Regions from separate parts of the Homo sapiens genome. Here regions 2, 3 and 4 are each linked to region 1. The links are contacts of gene promoters, found by promoter capture Hi-C in blood cells and fetal thymus (Javierre and others, 2016). All regions are on one chromosome and are shown on one strand. Each heading gives the region's core, a stretch centred on a gene start or on the middle of the fragment in contact. The rest is flanking DNA. Distances are from core to core; before and after follow the strand shown. Region 1 holds the start of KRT14 (keratin 14). Region 2 holds the start of KRTAP2-3 (keratin associated protein 2-3). Region 3 overlaps KRT40 (keratin 40). Region 4 overlaps KRTAP3-2 (keratin associated protein 3-2).

Region 1 (2,926 bases), core at 87-2,586:
CTCAGGGGAAGAATAAGAAGATATATTGGCCCCTGAGTCTGGTTGGATTTCCCCACCTCATCATTGAATTTCCCTAATCCATGCAAGTCATTAGAGCCCAACAGACTCCAGCAGGGAGGGCTCCCAAGTAATGTGGGAGCAGGGAGGAGGGGGCTAGAGTCAGGGCACAAGCCTGCCAGGCTCTCTCTGTGCAGGGCACATCAAGGGACCACACTAATTGTCTCTGCAGGCTCTCCATGCCCGCCTGGCTGTGGGGAGGGACCAGCCTGTACCAAGGCTTATGGGCGGCGGCAGCCACAGCCCAGACTAGTGAGCTAATGAGTGGTTTGGATGTCTTGCCTGGTCCCGTTAGAGCCTCACTCCTCCCCTGTGCTGGAGAACAAGTAGCTGCCTCCTGTGCTGGAAGGTAGGGCACAAGGGCCCCAGCCTTGGCTCTGCCATTAATTTGCTATGTGACCTGCAGCTGGTCACAGCACCTCTCGAAGCTTCAACTGCTTCCTCTAAAAAATGTAAGGATAGGAATCACTGATCTCACATGGTCTGAGGATTTGAGATCAGAAGGGGATGAGGAGGCTGGGGAAGGGAAAGCATCTTCTCACTGATCAGTCTTAGGGCATCCAAGACCTCGAAAGAAGGGATCTGGGGTGGACTCTGTCCTATAGAGAAATCTTAAGGTCTCAGGGGCCTGGGGCATGAATTGTTCCCAGAAGGAGCTAGCTGGAATGGTGCCTTCTGCTGCCCATTCACCCACCTTGTTCCTCAGGTCCTCAATGGTCTTGAAGTAGGGACTGTAGTCTTTGATCTCAGCAGGCCGCTGCCTCTGGTACCAGTCACGGATCTTCACTTCCAGGTCGGCGTTGGCCTCCTCCAGAGCACGCACCTTGTCCAGGTAGGAGGCCAGGCGGTCATTGAGGTTCTGCATGGTCACCTTCTCACTGCCCACCAGAAGCCCATCACCACCAGCAAAGCCACCACCAAAGCCACCACCCAAGCCAGCACCAAGGCCACCACCATATCCTCCCCCAAAGCCACTACCAAAGCTGCTGCTGCTGCTGCTGAAGCCACCGCCATAGCCGCCCCCCAGCCCGCAGGCTCCCCCAGAGGAGAAGCGGGAGGATGAGACAGACAGGCCGCCCCCGTAGGTGCTGGGGGCGCGGCAGGACCCTCCGGCCAGGACGGAGGAGATGCGGCTGGAGCCGCCCCCGATGCCGCCCCCGATGCCGCAGGAGCCCTTCATGGAGCTGGAGGAGGTGAACTGGCGGCTGCAGGTGGTCATGGTGCAGAGGAGGGAGGTGAGCGAGCGAGCAGTTGGCTGAGTGAAGAGAAGGTGCTCGGGTAAATTGGAAAGGGATGCGAGTGCTTTATACTCGTGGGTAGGGGGCGGGTCTGGCACTTTCCATTCCCCTTGGCTTTCATCACCCACAGGCTAGCGCCAACTCCCAGCCAGGTCCCTCCTCTCATCCGCCTCATCATGTCTGTCATATTTTACTGGAAACTCATTGTTTGGAGTGTTTTGGGCTTTCTTGTCCCGCCAGGCGTGATTCACAGGGGGAGGTGTGGGCCTGCAGGCTACACTTTCCCATCGGACCCTGGGAGTCCCAGCCCTCAGGAACCCGCGCACTGGGCTTAGCCAGGGTGACAGAGAGCAGGGCCTCTGCACCTTAAACCTAGTTACCTGCTAGCTCTCCATGAACTGAATGGGCCTTTAACATCCACGTAGAGGAAGCCTGCTGCTGCAGGGGATGGATACCCGGCTGGAAAGCACCGGCATGGCAAGGTCACCTTGGGCACAGACAGGCCTCCCTCACCATGACCCTCTATTAGAGACAAGGAGGTCTGGGGGGCCCTCCCAGGCCTGACCTCCCATGCTGTGCTGAGAAGTCTGTCCCATCCCTGAAATACACCCAGCTAGTCAGGTGTATCGTGGTTCCCACCCCAACATCCCCATCAAAGAGAAATCCAGGCAGCTCTCCCCAGCCCTGAGCACAGACCCTAATCTCCTCCCTATGGTGAGGATCTCACATCCACCACACCATAGGGCAGGTGGCCTCATGGAGGCCAGGAAACAGCCTGGAGTCAGGTGGGTCCTGGCTCTGCCATTTACGCCTCTGTGACCCAGGGCTTGGCACTTCTCTGAGCCTCAGTGTTCTCATCTGCAAAGTGGGAGTCATACCATCTATTCTGCTTAGTGCAGTCAGCTCTGAGAATCCAATGCGACAATGTATGTGAAAGGGTTTTGTAAACCGAGTATGGCAAGAAGCCTCGTTGGCATTGTTATAGCCCAGGCTTAGCCCCAAAGTGGCTGGAGCTGCATCCAGGAACAGGCCTAGGGGGGCCTTTTATTCTTCCAGCCCCAGATATCTTCTCAGACCCCCAGAACATCCCTAGTGTGGGCAGCTCAGGCGCCCTCGTTTGAGCCCCTTGTGGAACTGGCCCAGGAGATGTTCTGGGGAGGAGTAGAGGCTGGAGTGGAGCTGGGCTGTGCCAAGGGCAAGGCTGAGGTGGACACGAGGGTCCCTGACTCCTGAAGCCCCAAGGGTCAGGGGACATTTCTAGGAGTCCACTTGGTCCTGCTTTGGAGGTGTGTATATCAAAACTTCAGCAATCTCCCAGACAACCTCCCAAAGCAAACCCTTCCGGCCCCCACCCCACCCTCCCATCAGCCCCTAGGCTCCACAGACCCCGGCAGGCATGTTGAGAGGAATGTGATCGTGTCTGGGGCTGCCTGACGCATCCTATCTCCTCAGACAGGCCCCAACAGCCCCTGCTGGAGGCTCCAATGCTCTTCCTGGGATCAACTGCTCCTAGAAGAGAAGCAGGACCCTCTGTCACCCCCAACCCCACCTTGACTGTCACCAAAGAAGAAGCCAGAGAAGGGAGCCCCCCACTACTGTGGCCTAGGAGCTTGGAAGACAATGCTGAGACA
Region 2 (3,198 bases), core at 607-3,106, 530 kb before region 1:
GGATTTCAGGCTTGAGCCACTGCACCTGGCCATCTGTTACTATGCTTATTACCTGGGTGATGAAATAATCTGTATACCAAAACCCTGTGACACACAATTTACCTATATAACAAACGTGCACATGTACCCCTGAACTTGAAATAAATTTAAATTAAAAAGACTAAAGACCCCTGCCCTCACAAAGCTTCCCTTGCCTCACTTCTCTCAATGGGCAGGTAGATATGCCCAGGAATACATGCTGAACAATCAAAGAAATCTCTTTTCTATCACATGCTAGGAACTAAAAAGATATTTATCAGGAAAATGATAGTGGTTAGCCTTCCTTACCAACATACAAGTATTTAACAAAATCAAAAATATATGCAGTATGGATTAATGTTATCAGCATTTCAACCGCATTGCAGTTGTTTAAATGGTTAAGATGTATGCGGAGCTCAAAACTAGGATGATTACAACCAAGGCTTCATTTCTCCCTGTCTTCTCAGCAGCAGCCACTCCACTGGAAGTAGAACTGGCCATGGTGGTGCTGACGGGAACCATGGAGAAGATGGGATAGTGGTTCCTCCAGCATAGGATGTTCAGTGGCTAGGGATTCCCAGGTCTTGTTTGACATCAATTACCGTACAGTTTCCTACATTGGTGAACAAATAGGGCTATAACTTAGCTTAGACTTCCTCCCCCTTATCATGTGTGTGAATTATTCATAAGTCAAGTTTATGTTTACAGAGACCTACTGTAGTCTCACCATTTCGTCAGCATCACCATAAAACCTGCGACTCGAAATATGAAGGTGAATCATGAGATGATCAGATTTATTTGAAATGCTATTAAAATTATAGACCTTCCACCTGAGTTGTTCCTATTCTAAAGCTCAAAAATGGCCCTTAGAAAATCTCTCCTTTCGTTCTTCTGGTTCTGCATGCTGTAATGTAAGCTAAATATGAGCTTTTGAAGAGCAATAAACAATAAATAAAAAGAAATGTTTGCTTCCCCAGAAATATAATTTTATTTTTTTTTACAGTGCAAAAATACAGCATACAAATAGTATTATCCTGGAAGAAAAAAATCTCATCTGAGAACCTTGAAACAGTAGAAAAAAGGGTGATGAGTCAGTGGGACAGAGTTCTATTCAAGAGGAGCTTTGATTTTTATTTACTCGTTTTTTTTTTCAAGCCAGGAATTCGAATGATGAAAGCTGGAATTTTTCTCAAGATTGTCAGAGAGGGCCAGGATTAGCTGCATAATTATGTGGGGAAATAGATAGGATGTTATTGTTGAATTCGTGCTTGAGGATCAGCTAGGCTGCAAAGGTGGAGTCTCTCATCTGATCCAGAAGGGGTAGAAGAGTCTGCACAAGCTTCTGTGCACCTGGGAATGTTTCGTGCGTTGAGAGGAGAGGTGGGGTCTCAGCAGGAGGAGGTCCTGCAGGTGGTGCTGCAAGGGGTCGGCTGGCCGCAGGGAGGCCGGCAGCAGGGGGACTGCACAGACACAGGCTGGCAGCAGGTGGTGGCCCAGCAGCAGGGCCTGCACACCACAGCCGTGCACGACGAGGGGCAGCAGGTGATGGGGCGGCAGCAGCCTTCCTGCAGGGAGCAGGGGTCGCAGCACACCGGGCGGCGGCAGGGCTCGCAGATGGGGCGCGTGCAGCGGGGCACGCAGGTCACGGGGCGGCACACGGTGGTCTGGCAGGTCACGGGGCGGCAGCAGCAGGGGTCGCGGCAGCAGCAGGGCTGGCAGCAGCCTCCCCCGTAGCTCAGGGAGGACAAGGTGGAGCCGCAGCAGGAGCCGGTCATGGTGGTGTCTGAGGCTGGTGTGGGTTGGGCTGTTGAGAGGAGCTGGATGTTCTCAGGTGTGAATGTCCTCGTTCCACTCTGGGCCCTTTATATATCCTAGCTGGATGCTGATGACCCCCAGGACATGAGGTCATTTCCTGGAGTTGTAGCTGCCCGTTGAAATGAGAACTCTGGATTTAACTGCTGAGGCAGCGATCCCTAAATCACTAAAGAATGCTTTGTTTTCTACCTGTCTACTTTTTCCCTAGAACGGAATACCTGGTCATGTATATCATCAGAACAATTGCTCATCTATCAGCTAGTCCTTCCAGGCCATGCCATGTGAGAAGGTGCAAGTTTGAAGAATCCAGCCACCATCACACTTTCCTCTTGTTCGCTGCCATCCGTGACTTAAGCATGGGACTGGAATGTTCATGAGTCACAGGCTGGGTTTCTGATTGGCATTGAGATCAAGCAAGAATTTCTTAAAAACCAAAATGGCTCATAAGAGCAGATGTGTATTGATTCTGCTATGGAAAGAATGGCCCAGTGTTTAATGACACAGTGCCTAACCTTGTTTATAAGAAAATCATCACCAAAGCTGCTAGACTGATTTTATTTTAGTAATCTGAGTTGGTTTATAACTCATTAACACTTATGAGACACTTATTATGTAGATGGTACTGTACTATTTGGGGGTGGAGGGGGAAAGGAAAGAAAAATAGCTTTCAAATAGTTTCCTATCACATAGTAATCATAACTTTTAGTAAGGCAAGACAAAGATAAATCAAGCAATTAAAGGGAAAGAACTTTTCTGGGAACAATAAGGTCAAACTAAATGGGGATTTCATTCATTCTGTGCCTTTCTGAATGCCCTTCCCTGATTATTGACCTAGAAATAAAATTGAAATTGGGCTATTTCTTGCTTTCTTGCTTTGACATATGCACTTTGTATTACATACTTAAAAATCTATGGACAATATCTACAAAGGAATCAATTATCTTTCTGTCACAGCTTCTTTAGTTTGTTGGCTGAGGGTTTTGTTTGTTTATGAGGTGGGAAGGTGGCATTATGAAAAAGACAAGGGGAATTAGTTTAGCTGGTGACCAATAAAATAGCTTTGTCTTTTCCAGCCATAGCAAAGATGAATAGGAATACAGAAAATAAATTTAGAGTTGGAAGGTAGATTAAAGATAACATTGTCCAAGGAATGCTGATGGTCTTCAGTGCAAATTTACCTCTGAGGTGTGTTTTGTTTTGTTTTCTCTTTTTAAAAATACACCCTTTGGTCTATCATATCCCTGATCTTTGAAGTCCTTTGAGTCTATGATCCATCATAGTCCATCACAGTTTTTGGAAGACCAGATTTACAAAATGAATTCCTCCAAAGTCGTACGGATCAAAGAGTGGCAAATATTTAGCAAT
Region 3 (3,214 bases), core at 231-2,730, 610 kb before region 1:
GGACTATCCACAACATATGAGAGGAAAGATTGAGTTTGGGCTCTTGGCAGGGAGGGGTAGTATAGTGCTATTAAGAGAAGAGGCTCTGGATACCAGAGGCTGGGACTGGCATATGTGTGGTAAGGGGATGAAGAGAGGTTGGTTAATGGGTGCAAACATACAGTTAGACAGAAAGAATATGTTTTCATGTTGGACAGCAGAGAAGTGTGACTACAGTTAACAACAATACACTGTGCATTTCAAAATAGCTAGATGGGAGGACTTGAAATGCTCCCAACACATAGAAATGATAAATACTTGAGGTGATGGATGCTCTAAATATCCTGACTTGATCATTACACATTCTATGCATGTAACAAAATATCACATCTACGTAAAAAAAATTTACGCATATTATATATCAATAAAAATAAATTTAAAAAGAGAGAGAGAAGAGACTCTGGGATTCAACTGGCTGAACTCAGCTTCCAAGTTTGCCTCTTAGAATTGCATCCTTTGCAAGTTACTTAATCTGAGTCTCAGTTTTCCTTATCTGTGTCATGGGATAAAGGTATCTATCCGGTAAAGTTACTGTGAGCCTTAAATCAGCATAGTGCCTCTCACAGGATGAATGCTCAGCTATTGTTCTTCTAGGTGTTCTCCGCAGGGCCTAATGACATGCACACAGTGGTGCTTGACCAGAACTGGTTCATGTCATCTTGAACGCATGGTGTTCCTGTTGCTTGAGTGGGGGGTGGTGCAGTGAAGGATAAGGTTGAAGTGTAGATCCTGGGAAACTGTAGGATGAAATGTTTGAAAATGATTCTTTGTTTTAGATATAACAGTGAGCCTGGAAAACTGGCCTGAATCAAATGAGAATTAAAACCTGCCAGAATGCTTAAGCGACCATGGCCCGGAGGTTTCTCTCCAGCTCTGCTTCTCCCTCCCTGTCTCTGGAGGCTGCTGCAGCATCAGACTCAAGCCCAGGAGTGAAGGTAAGGCATCTTAGAGGACAAGCTGTGGACCTGTCACTTCTGCTTCTATTAATAGCTGGGTAAACGGCAGTACTCGGGAAAGGCAAGGAAATGTGATCCTCGGATATGGAAGAGGGCTTAACATCTCAGGGCCTGACTTATCAGTGACACAACGGACACTGCCTTTGCCTCACGCACCAGGCTTTGCTGTGCTTGGAGCTCAATTTCCAGAGCACTGGCTGTGCGTTTCAGTTCCAAGATCTCCATCTGGCAGCCCTGCAGCTGCTCCGCGCTGGACAGTTGCTGCTGATTCAGCTCTTCTGTCTGAAACACAGACACCATTAGAGAATTCAAAAAAGGCAGAAGTCTGTAAGCCTGACATTTTTTCAATCTGGGTACTGACCTGAACAGCCAACCATTCTTCAGCTTCTCTGCGATTGTTGGCAAGCACCGTTTCACACTGACAGCGCATCTCATCCAGGACCCTGTTGAGGTCAAGGGTGGGGGCAGTGTCCAGCTCCACACTGAGGCGGTCGCCAAGCTGTTCACGAAGCAAGTTGACTTCCTGAAAGTGGGATGGTGTAAAGAATGTCACAGAATGGTGGGGAAAAATCCATTTGACATCCAATGGCATTCTACTTCTGTTTTTTGGAGCAGTGGGTAAAAGTGTGAGATTTTGATTCAGATTGCCTGGGCTGAATCTCTTTTCACCACTTAGAAGGGCCTCAGTTTCTTCGTCTGTAAAATGGACATAATAATTGGACATTTTTCCAGAAAGTTATTGTGAGATCTAGAAGAGTCAATCTACACATAATTAACTTATAAAAGTTAATTATGACACATAGTAAGGTGTCAATAAATGTTAGCTATGATTGTCATCAACAAACGTTCAAAGAGCAAATGTACTTTGTTACATCATTCAGCTTTTCATTTTCTAGCTTTATCAATATATCAGTGGCTGTATATTTTATGATTTTTAGAAGTTTATAAATGCGGAATATTTAAAAACACTGGTCCAGATAGTGCACAGTCTTTATCCCTTTTTTGAAATGGACTTCACAGTCTGTTCCTCAGCCTGATTTTCATACCCTGTGGACTGGAGCTAGGGGTGGCATAAAGCCTCCAAAGGAAGCCATTTGTGAAGTTACCTCCTCCACAAAGGCAAGGGCAGGAGAAGAGTTTGATTCCTTCCTCTGGCGCTGTCTAGGGGTTATTTCACACCTTAAATCAGAGACACACTGGAATGATCAGGTTGAATAGTAATAATGCCTCGAGTAGTTTTTGTTTGTTTGTTTGTTTGTTTGTTTTTTGAGATGGAGTCTCGCCCTGTCACCCAGGCTGGAGTGCAGTGGTAAGATCTCGGCTCACTGCAACCTCCGCCTCCTGAGTTCAAGTGATTCTCCTGCCTCAGCCTCCCGAGTAGCTAGGACTACAGGCGCCTGCCACCATGCCCAGCTAATTTTTGTATTTTTAGTAGAGATGAGGTTTCATCATATTGGTCAGGCTGGTCTCGAACTCCTGACCTTGTGATCCTCCTGCCTCAGCCTCCCAAAGTGCTTGGATTACAGGTGTGAGCCACCATGCCTGGCCCTGCCTCAAGTAGTTTTATTCCAGCTTAAACAACATCTGCCCAAATTCGATTTACAAACATCAACAGATCATCTGTCAATGTAAGTACGTTACTCTCGGAGTCCTTCAGCGGAGTTGCCACTTTCCTTACCTCTTCATGGTTTTTCTTAAGGCAAAGGAGATCTTCCTTCAGAGACTCCACATGGGCCTCCAGATCAGATTTGCACAGGGTCAGTTCCTCCAGGATCCCATGCAGGCTGCTGATGTCAGCCTCTAACAGCTGGCGAAGGGACAGTTCACTCTCGTACCTTTCACAGCAAAAGAGAAATCCAACGCTTACTTTGCTGAACGCTGTGCAAAGTGTGGGGATACATGGAGGATCGACACACGGACTTCAGGAAGCCATGTGCATAATTTCTCTTAATTCCTAAGTAATGATAAATTCAAGCTTTTAAAACATTCTTAACTTTAAAATATTATATAGAGAATATTTGTGTGTGTGTGTGTGTGTGAGAGAGAGAGATTGAGAGAGAGAGAGCCATAAGTTATTTTCAAATTAAAATTAAAGCCGGGCGTGGTGGCTCATGCCTGTAATCCCAGCACTTTGGGAGGCCAAGGCGGGCAGATCACCTGAGGTCAGGAGTTCGAGACCAACCTGGCCCACATGGTGAAACCCTGTCTCTACTAAAAAT
Region 4 (2,912 bases), core at 386-2,885, 590 kb before region 1:
TACACATAACATATTATTATAAGCTGCTGCTATTATACATTATAATAGGAAAGAAAAAGAGTAAAAGACAAAAAATAAAAGAAAAAATTATTTTGAGGGAAACATTACAAAGGAAACATGGCTTGCAGACCCTCAGGATTAGAATTTCATGGCAGAAAGCTATCAGCTTCTTACCTGGGATACAATATTACTTTGAGTTCACCATAAAAGCTTAGAGCAACTATTACTGTTTATGCAGCACATTGTGTTTCTCTAATCATAAATAAGACAAGGTTACAGATTACAAACAGTTGTAATGCAACAAGTTTATTATAATAAGCTCTTCTCTTTTATTGACAAGACTTGCAGCACTTTATTAAAATGTATTTTCTCTGCAGTGGTCTAAGAGACCTGAGAATTACTCTCCTTTGTTTATAAATGATGACAGTGATTCATAGAGAGGTGAGATGATTTGCCTTAGATGGTTCGGGAGCCAGTGTGTTAAAAACTAAATATAGGACCTATTGGGATTGAGCTACCTTTTATGTGGTTAGAAATGGAAGTTTAAACTATGTGTCAGAGATACTAAGCATTTTATTTTTAAAAACAACGCGTATCTTTTTTCTTTAAGTGAATGTAGGAAAAACATGGTGATTCTTGATGAGATGGTAGATTTTCGGGGTGCTAAAAATCTAGACACACACACACATACGCACACGCACACTCACACATCCAAGAAGTCCAGTTTTAATTATATCTTTCTATAGTCAATGGAGGGATCTGGGACAGTGCAGATGTAAATCAAAGATTAATAATGAAAAGAGACAGAAGCAAAACATGATTATATTGGTCTCTTGCTTGAAATATTTCATTGCTTCAAAGTTTCAGTCCAAACCCCTTTGCTTTGAGGAGCCCCTTATGTCTGGGTCTTTGCATTTCTGTCTTCTCTGCCTCACCCTCTTCAATGCATTGTTCATCCAGTCATTCCCAACTACCTCCTGTGGCTTAAAGACACCAACCTTTCCGCTGCCTCCATGATTTATTAAGCTGCTATTCTGTCTGGAACAACTGTTCCCTACCTCTCCTGCTGCCTATTCATCTTTTAAAGCTTAGACTGGATAGCTCAGAGGCTTTCCGTAGCTATTTCTCACCTTTGACACTGAATCACCAAATCAGGGTTTTAGTTATTCTTTCTGTATGCTTGCATGCCATGCTGCTCACCTCCCAGTCACAGCAGAATCCCTCAGCATTGCAATTATTATTATGATAACTTGTCTTTCTTCTTCACTAGATTTGGGAGAGACTTGAGGGCACTTGAGACTTGAGGTAATAGCATTTCTTTTATCTTTTTACTCCTGGCATCAATATGATGCCTGACATAGGGCAAACACTCAGGAAATATGGACAAATGAATGAGTGAATGGACTAGATCTCTTGTTGACAATATCCTCTGTAGTGTCCCATAGACTCCATGGCTGCTAAGTTCTGTTCATTTAAGGTTGAGCTGTAAAAAGCCTATGGAATCCCGTGAGAAATTTCTCTCTCAAGACACTAACAGGTACATTGAGGACATTTTAAAACAAGTTTGTTAAAAAGCATTTGCTTCTCCCCTTCCTTGTCCTACTCTGTTTCTTGCATGTCTTCTTGTGGTTTTATTTCAATGCATTTTCAGATTTTGACTTGTGTCTTTATATATGTATTGTGTATAGATATACATACACACATATATTTATATGTGTTACATAAATGTATTGGATGTATTATATATATAATATATACTTGTTCTCTCTAGGCTTGGAAAAGAAAAATCTTCATGAGATAAAATTAAGTAGGTTGATAAAATTAAGTAACGAATTAAAGCATACGTAATCAGAGTTTTAGCTCTCAACCTGAGACACCTGAAAAGTATTGGCATTCTATTGATTACTGTGGTAGAACATCTGTGCTGAGTATGGTGGCAAATAAAGGTATGTCCCTGGTGCCTTGTTACTAGAGTTGACCACTTTGAGTTCTCTCTAAGAGAAAATGAAGTTGAAATAGGTACACCTTCAAAATGCCCAGATTTTAGAATTGAATACTTGCCAATTTTAATCTATGAACCAATGTACTCTTTTTCTATTATAATCCGATGTGGATTTTGTTAAAGAATCTTACATGTTTTATTTCTCTTGCATATTTTGGGTTTATTTCATAACTGTGCTCATTAAGCTTCTGGTTTCATTAGTATTGAAGGTTCTATGATGTGGTAGGAAAAATTGGGCTTTAGAGTCAGACATACAAGAGGCTGAATTCTGATTTTCTAAGTAATTAACTTTATGACTTTCAGAATGTTGAATAACGCTTAAAACTTCATTTTTTCTTATCCATTAGTGCTGTTTTAAGGACTAAATCAATAATTTACTGGTGAAGAGTAGATAAATAAATGTTGGTTCACACCAAAATTGCACTTGTCTGAGGAAGAAGAGAGAAGAGAAGGCAAACATGAAAGAGAACCTGTTAAAAGTTAGCAAGCCATGTTAGTAGTAGCAAGAATGTTAGTCATTCTGCCAATAGAGTCTTCTTTAAAAGATTAAAATAATCATCCTGTTTTTACCTTTTTAAAATGGAAGAAATATACCCAAAACTAACATAAACAAATGACACATCTTGCCAGAGAAATATAGTTTATTGGAAAACCCACCAAGAAATTTTCTTCTATGAAAATACCCAGTACAAGAAACAAGAGCCAGGAAGCAATATGATCAAGAACATGTAATCTGAGGTCTTAAAGATTGAAACAGTATTTTGCTAATAAAACTCATTCACCTGCCCACAGGAACCAAATGGTTTTTCAGCTAAATAACCATAAAAAATACTTTTCTTTTTTTCCCCCATTAAAACCAAAGGTAAGTTCTTCATATCTGGGTCATCTGGTCTACCTTAACATCTGGCAA

What was found. Contacts are between HindIII fragments. The CHiCAGO score rates a contact against its expected background, and 5 or more counts as called.
Region 2: the fragment with the promoter of KRTAP2-3 here is called in contact with the fragment with the promoter of KRT14 in region 1 in 4 of 17 cell types (naive CD8 T cells, total CD4 T cells, total CD8 T cells and 1 more); the score reaches 6.1 in naive CD8 T cells.
Region 3: a contact is called between a fragment that was not itself captured here and the fragment with the promoter of KRT14 in region 1, in 4 of 17 cell types (activated CD4 T cells, total CD4 T cells, naive CD8 T cells and 1 more). The highest score is 7.2, in activated CD4 T cells.
Region 4: a fragment that was not itself captured here is called in contact with the fragment with the promoter of KRT14 in region 1 in 3 of 17 cell types (activated CD4 T cells, total CD8 T cells and naive CD8 T cells); the score reaches 7.0 in activated CD4 T cells.

Annotation. Positions count from the first base shown.
Region 1 is chr17:41,585,559-41,588,484 of GRCh38, forward strand. KRT14 (keratin 14) reads right to left here and starts at 1,337. Exons shown (of 8, transcript NM_000526.5): 1 at 752-1,337. The coding sequence starts at 1,276. LOC124904003 (a long non-coding RNA gene) reads left to right here and starts at 2,789. Exons shown (of 2, transcript XR_007065755.1): 1 at 2,789-2,926. RefSeq lists an enhancer at 1-240. The HindIII fragment of the contact is 10,096 bases long and covers 484-2,926 here.
Region 2 is chr17:41,058,258-41,061,455 of GRCh38, forward strand. It overlaps KRTAP2-3 (keratin associated protein 2-3), which reads right to left and starts at 1,857. Exons shown (of 1, transcript NM_001165252.2): 1 at 983-1,857. The coding sequence starts at 1,793. The coding sequence ends at 1,407. RefSeq lists enhancers at 1,027-1,601, 1,602-2,176. The HindIII fragment of the contact is 5,271 bases long and covers 1,356-3,198 here.
Region 3 is chr17:40,979,634-40,982,847 of GRCh38, forward strand. KRT40 (keratin 40) reads right to left here. Exons shown (of 7, transcript NM_001389244.1): 3 at 2,674-2,830; 4 at 1,357-1,518; 5 at 1,152-1,277. It overlaps LOC107985072 (a long non-coding RNA gene), which reads left to right. Exons shown (of 4, transcript XR_001752886.2): 3 at 816-974; 4 at 2,695-3,214. Among named protein-coding and RNA genes, the nearest start is that of KRT40, 3.1 kb to the right of the region's middle. RefSeq lists an enhancer at 373-974. The HindIII fragment of the contact is 2,975 bases long and covers 1-2,968 here.
Region 4 is chr17:40,996,568-40,999,479 of GRCh38, forward strand. It overlaps KRTAP3-2 (keratin associated protein 3-2), which reads right to left. Exons shown (of 1, transcript NM_031959.3): 1 at 2,626-2,912. Among named protein-coding and RNA genes, the nearest start is that of KRTAP3-2, 1.9 kb to the right of the region's middle. The HindIII fragment of the contact is 1,100 bases long and covers 1,086-2,185 here.